Regions from separate parts of the Homo sapiens genome. Here region 2 is linked to region 1. Evidence: promoter capture Hi-C in 16 types of primary human blood cells and fetal thymus (Javierre and others, 2016). All regions are on one chromosome and are shown on one strand. The core of a region is centred on a gene start or on the middle of the fragment in contact, and the rest is flanking DNA. Distances in the headings are between cores, read along the strand shown. Region 1 holds the start of PSMD12 (proteasome 26S subunit, non-ATPase 12). Region 2 holds the start of C17orf58 (chromosome 17 open reading frame 58).

What was found. Contacts are between HindIII fragments. The CHiCAGO score rates a contact against its expected background, and 5 or more counts as called.
Region 2: a fragment that was not itself captured here is called in contact with the fragment with the promoter of PSMD12 in region 1 in 1 of 17 cell types (erythroblasts); the score reaches 5.2 in erythroblasts.

What each region holds. Positions count from the first base shown.
Region 1 is chr17:67,364,864-67,368,173 of GRCh38, forward strand. PSMD12 (proteasome 26S subunit, non-ATPase 12) reads right to left here and starts at 1,714. Exons shown (of 11, transcript NM_002816.5): 1 at 1,549-1,714. The coding sequence starts at 1,656. RefSeq lists enhancers at 1,530-1,589, 1,610-1,919. The HindIII fragment of the contact is 3,672 bases long and covers 1-2,395 here.
Region 2 is chr17:67,995,042-67,998,351 of GRCh38, forward strand. C17orf58 (chromosome 17 open reading frame 58) reads right to left here and starts at 1,428. Exons shown (of 4, transcript NM_001382359.1): 1 at 1,082-1,428. The coding sequence starts at 1,157. RefSeq lists a silencer at 658-747. The HindIII fragment of the contact is 3,759 bases long and covers 1-3,310 here.

The DNA of each region.
Region 1 (3,310 bases), core at 464-2,963:
TCCTTTTCCTGGGCAGGTGCTCGAAAGTTCAGGTTTTTGGCCAGCCGCGGTGGCTCACGCCTGTAATCCCAGCACTTTGGCAGGCAGAGGTGGGTGGATCACTTTAGGTCAGGAGGTCGCGTGCGACCAGCCTGGCCAACGTAGTGAAACCCCGTCTCTACTAAAAGTACAAAAATTAGCCGGGCGTGGTGGCACCTGTAGTCCTAGCTACTCGGGAGGCGGAGGCAGGAGAATCGTTTGAACCCGGGAGGCGGGGGTTGCAGTCAGCCAAGATTGCGCCACTGCACTCCATCCTGGGTGAAAAAAGTGAAACTCCGTCTCAAAAAAAAAAAAAAAAAAAGTTCAGGTTTTCACTACAATAGGCTTCTAGGCAGGACAGCATGGTGTGTGAGGGCACCAGCTCCAGAATCTAGAATCGGTCTGCCTGGGTTTGCTTCTTGGCTTCACCACTTTACTAGCTGTATGATCTTGGGGCATGTGATTCAACTTTTTCTAGCCCAAGTTTTCTTACCTGTAAAATAAGGATAATAGTAATAGCCATCGCATAGGGCTGAGGTGAGGATCAAATGGCTTAGTGCATGTAAGCACGGTGCCTGACACTGCAGAAACTACTCAACAAATATCAGTTATTGTTATCTGTCTGGCATTGGAGGCGGCTGAGTTTTCCCACCCTTATGTAACTGATGTTTGTTGATGCTAGCTGCTAGAAAGCTCTTAATGAATTTGTGGCTCCCCCTCAGCAAGCATACTGAACCTAAGATATACATACGTACCAACTTTATCACCTTTCTCCATCCTTGTTTCTTGGAAAGCCCGTTAAACTCTTATAGTGCCTACTTGTCTTTACTTCTGTAGTTCCGTCTTCAGTAATGACTCCACCCCACCTCAATCTTACTAATTCCTCAAGACCCAATACAAACGTCAGCCTTCCTGTAAAACCTTCCCTTATGGCACCATTAAGAATGCATAGCTTCCTTCTCGGTGTTCCAGTAACACTTTCCCCTTGTATGGCCCTCACCACCATGCATGACTTGACTAATTCATCACGTACATCAACTCCTAAAGGACAGGGTCCTGTGTTAGTCATCTTCGTACTATCACTTTCCTGCCCCTTCTCCTGGCCAAAGACCAGGCACATAGCCATGATCCACAAACGATGTAACGACATAAATTGATTGAGCAACAGCAACAGAACGAAACTCTCTGATCTAGCCTTAATACTGAAGCGGCCTTAACCCCTGGGAAACTACTAAGGTAAATATCACTTAAACAGCATCCAAGAAACGGCAAAAAGTTAAACGGAGCCCTAAGTCCCACGGAGGGAAGTGACCATCTGTTTTGGGGAGGGTCTGGGAAGCTATAGGCGCTGGCGTACTCCGCAGCCCTGGCCGGGCCGACCTGGGGTCTCCCACTCGTGCAGGCCCAACTAGGGCTGGACAGGCATTGGGGGGTGCACGCTCCAGCCCGCAGGCCCCCTGAGGCCTAAGCAGGCTCCGCGCCGTGACTCAGCCCCTGGCGCCCGCCAACAGCCAGCCGGCCTCTCCTCACCTTGGCTAGCTTCGCACACTCGGGTAGGCGCTGATCCACCGTGGCGCTGTAGTCCACCTCCATCTTGACGATGCGCCCGTCAGCCCGCTCCGAGCCGCCGTCCGCCATGGTCCCCGCCTGAGCGTCCCTTGCTGTCCCCCTGCTTCGGCCACCACTCGTCACCCACACCGGAAGTTGCCCGCGCACCCGCTCAGGCAGCCCATCGGGAGCCCACGCAAAGGACCCCTCGAGGTCCCCGGCGCTGGTTGCCACTCAGGCACTGCCGCGGACAGCCTGGGGGTGGGGCTTGAGGCGCGCGGGGCGGGACTCGCCACTCCAGCCTGCAGCGTCAGGTTTTGTCTCTGGGAACATCAGACTTTTTACCTAAAATTTGCGATGAGAAAAGCGAGTGTAATAGAACAGACCATCTCATATATCCCTACACCCCTGCTTCGAAATATGATTTCTCAGGACCGTGGCCAGTCGCTTTTCTTGGATCTCGGTTTTCTCATCTCTACATCAGGAGGCTAAAATAAACCTTAAAATAGAAAATTCTAAGGTTTTATCTACTTGAGAATCTTGGTGGCTTACTCTGTGGGATCTCTGAAAGCTCCTAAGAGAAGATATGGCAGCAGCTCAGTCATTTAATAAGCAAAGTGGTTTTTCTCTTTGTTTTCATTTTCACTGTAATCCACTAAGTTGGTAAAAAGAAAAGTTAAAAAGACATATTTGTTATCCCTATAGGATTTTCGTGAGCATCAAACTAGATGACATGTGAGACAATTTCAATTCTTAAGGGCCTTACACGTTTTATGTGTTATCATTCATACCATGCTGGTCCCTAGAAAATAGCTTGAGATCTTAAAAAAGCTTAGGATCCTTGAAAATGGGAATGAGGCCGGGCGCGGTGGCTCACGCCTGTAATCCCAGCCCTTTGGGAGGCTGAGGCGGGCGGATCATGAGGTCAGGAGATCGAGACCATCGTGGCTAACACGGTGAAACCCCGTCTCTACTAAAAATACAAAAAATTAGCCGGGCGTGGTGGCGGGCACCTGTAGTCCCAACTACTCGGGAGGCTGAGGCAGGAGAATGGCGTGAACCCAGGAGGCGAAGCTTGCAGTGAGCCGGCGAGATTGCGCCACTGCACTCCAGCCTGGGCGACAGAGCAAGACTCCGTCTCAAAAAAAAAAAAAAAAAAGAAAAAGAAAAGTAAAGAAAATGGGAATGAGGTTGTGTTTGGTGTGGGCATATGGTCAACAGCAGCCTGGAAAGCAAACAGGAAAACGGGAAATCTTGGAGTGGTTTATCTATTATGTTAGTGGTTCTCAATTTAATTAGTGCCGACATCGCTTTATAGATGCTGAATAGATCTCTTTGTTTGTTTTAACTGCAATGAAAATCAGGGAAAATATAAACCATCTACAAGCAAAATAAGACAATATCTCAGCTATAATCTGTAATGTAGAGGAGAAACAAATTTTACCTTTTTTTTATTTTTGTAGAGATAGCAGCTATACTACGTAGCCCAGGCTGGTCTCAAACACCTGGCCTCAAGCAGTCCTCTCACCTTGGCCTCCTAAAGTGCTGAGATTACAGGTGTGAGCCACTGTGCCCAACCAAGAAACAAATTTTAAAATAGCAAAATAATATATATTTCAAGAGATAAGGGCTAAAACATGTCTACAGTGGAAAATACAAGGAAGTAGTTATTTACACCCATACACAATAACTATAAATGTAAAAGCTGCAACTGCAACAGGTGTGTTCTCTTGGTTCCTGAAGC
Region 2 (3,310 bases), core at 382-2,881, 630 kb after region 1:
GCCCTCCAAACAGGCAAGAACTAGCCTTTATTTTTCTCTCCCCTTGCATTAAAGAGATGGATCTGCCCATTTGCAGCTCTGGCAACACTTCATTTAAAGTTGATCAGTCTTGCCAAATCGATAATCTGCTTTAAAATCAGCTTTCACCCAGCAATAATAGCTGGTTAGAGTTCATGTTTTTGCAAAGAGGTTGATTCTGACTCATTATGTTGTTAAACGGTTGTGCCATGCACAGCTGAATAAAGTTCTGGTGGATATCCAATTCCTGACTGTCAACTGTTGACCTCACAACTGCTTCCCCATTGATATAACCATCTGTTGTCATGGGAAAGATTGTCTGATATTTGGGTTAAATGCCACTGAAGTCATTCAATTTCCATGTGGAAAAATAACCCAGAGTAAATTGCCCTGTGAGGTACGGAAACTGTTTTTCCCAGAGATAGCGAAGCCGACAGAACATCCAAATAAAAGCAAAACAAAAACACGATCCCCCAGAGAACCCCTCATTTCTTCACGGGCTGAGTAACTTAATTTCATTTCGTGCATGAAGTATAAGAGTGTGTGCGTGTTAGTTAAACCCCGGCTCAGGTGTCCCAAGGTTGTGCGCTGGGGCTGCGGGGAGAGCAAAGTGCCCGGGGCTGCCGGATTTCGGCCCCGCTTCCCCCCAGCCCTCCACAGCGCCCCCCGCAGCCCCTGCTCACCCAGTCGAGGGGGGCGGACCCCGCGGCGTCCTGCGAGCCCGGCCCGGGCACGGCTCCCGAAAGGCGCGCCACGACCCCTTTTGACACTTTCCCTCCTCCGTGATGGAGCAACTACTTAACATGCAAAGTTTTCCCCAGCCTGCCCGGCTTGCTCGGGATCATTTCAGTAGCTAAATTGGCTTCTTTCCGAAAAGGCTGCCAAGAGACACGAAACCTTGGGGACACACTTTGCTCCTTTATAAGACGAACGCAGACCCGGGGTGTCCTCTCTTGCGAGCTCTGACCCCCCTCCTCGTCCCACGTTTCACTGAGCCTCCTTCCCAGCTCCCCCCCACAGATCCCCGCTCCGCTCCCAGGGCCCCGCACTACACCAATCTTACTTTTTCTCTCCGCCACCGGTGCTTCGGGGGATGATCCGACGATCAAACAGAGGAGCCAGAAAGCTCTAGCTGTCATTTTTGCAGACAGGGTTCCCAGGCTCTAAAAGTGAGCCTGGTCTTTTGCTTGCTTTCTCTCCCCCAACCCCTTCTCCACACCCCCACCCCCGTTCATGCTAATGAGGGGCAGCCTTTGGGGAAACGGGAATCACTCGCTGAGCAGACCATTGGAACAAAACCGAGCCGCAGGGATTTCTCCCTCTTCCTTCCTAAGGAGGACGAGCACATGGCCTTGCAAAGTTGTCCCCGGGAATGTCTGTCCTGTGATCTGCGGGCGAGGAGAGCATCACAGCCTAAACTTTAAACCTGTGTGCGTTTGCGCGCTGGGGTGGGGGCAGCAAAGGGTGGGGTGACAAGTGCAGAGAATAAGCGTGTTTCGGGACTGAGGGACTGGGTGGGGGAGAACGAGTGACGGGAGCTTTTTTCTAGATTAGGTCAACAACAAATAGGAAAATAGTGCTTAAGACAGCGTGGGTTTGTGGAAGGGAGATTCCAGATGACAGAGAATGTATCCTGGAATGTGTGTGTTAGGCAATTTCTAGAGAAACCAAGTCACTGCTTCCTTAGTAAAACTGTTTCATTATATATCACAGCTCATTGTAACCTCTGCCTCCCGGACTAAAGCGATTCTCGTGCCTCAGCCTCTCAAGTAGCTGGGATTACAGGCATATGCCACCATGCGAGGCTAATTTTTGTATTTTTAGCAGAGACGGGATTTCACCGTGTTGGCCAGGCTGGTCTCAAACTCCTGACCTCAAGTGATCCACCCACCTTGGCCTCCCAAAGTGCTGGGATTACAGCATGAGCCACCACGCCGGGCCCAGAGGTCTAATTATTAATCAGAATGTTGCCTGTTGAGGCCAGGCAGGGTGGTTCATGCCTGTAATCCCAGTACTTTGGGAGCCCGAGACAGGAGGATCTCTTGAGCTCAGGAGTTCAAGACCAGCCTGAGCAACATGGAGAGAACCTGTCTCTACAAAAAATACAAAAATTAGCCAGGCATGGTGGCTCGCATCTGTGGTCCCAGCCACTTGGGAGGCTGAGGTGGGAGGATCACTTGAGCCTAGGAGGTGGAGGTTGCAGTGAGCCGAGATTGTGCCACTGCACTCCAGCCTGGGTGACAGAGAGAGGCCCTGTCTCAAAAAAAAAAAAAAAAAAAAAAGAAGAAGAAGAAGAAGAAGAAAGAAAAGAAAGAGGAGGAGCCAGGCACAGTGGCTCACGCCTGTAATCCCAGCATTTTGGGAGGCCAAGGCAGGCGGATCACGAGGTCAGGAGTTCAAGACCAGCCTGGCCAAATTAGTGCAACCCTGTCTCTACTAAAATTACAAAAAAGTTAGCAGGGTGTGGTGGCACACACCTGTAGTCCCAGCTACTCAGGAGGCTGAGGCAGGAGAATCGCTTGAACCTGGGAGGCAAAGGTTGCAGTGAGCTGAGACTATGCCATTGCACTCCAGCCTGGGTGATAGAGTGAGACTTTTGTCTCAAAAAGAAAAAAAAAAAGAGGAGGAGGAGGAGAACGAAGAAGAAGAAGAAGGAGAGCAGGGCCAGGTGTGGTGGCTCACGCCTGTAATCCCAGCACTTTGGGAGGACAAGGTGGGTCGATCACGAGGCCAGGAGATCCAGACCATCCTGGCTGACACAGTGAAACCCCGTCTCTACTGAAAATACAAAAAATTAGCCGGGCGTGGTGGCGGGCGCCTGTAGTCCCAGCTACTCAGGAGGCTGAGGCAGGAGACTGGCGTGAACCTGGGAGGCGGAGCTTGCAGTGTGGCGCCACTGCCCTGCCCTCCAGCCTGGGTGACAGAGTGAGACTCTGTCTCAAAAAAAAAAAAAAAAAAAAAAAAGAAGGAGAGGAGGAAGAGGAGGAGGAGGAGGAAAGAAGTTTGCCTGTTGAGCATTAAATCAAAGAAAATAAATTTGCTGGCTGGGTGCGGTGGCTCAACCTGTAATCCCAACACTCTGGGAGGCCAAGGTGGGCAGATCACGAGGTCAGGAGTTCGAGACCAGCCTGGCCAACATAGTAAAACCCCATATCTACTAAAAATACAAAAATTAGCGAGTCATGGTGGCGGGCACCTGTAATCCCAGCTACTTGGGAGGCTGAGGGAGGAGAATCGCTTGAACCCAGGAGGCAGAAGTTGCAGTGAGCCAAGACTGCGCCACTACACTCCA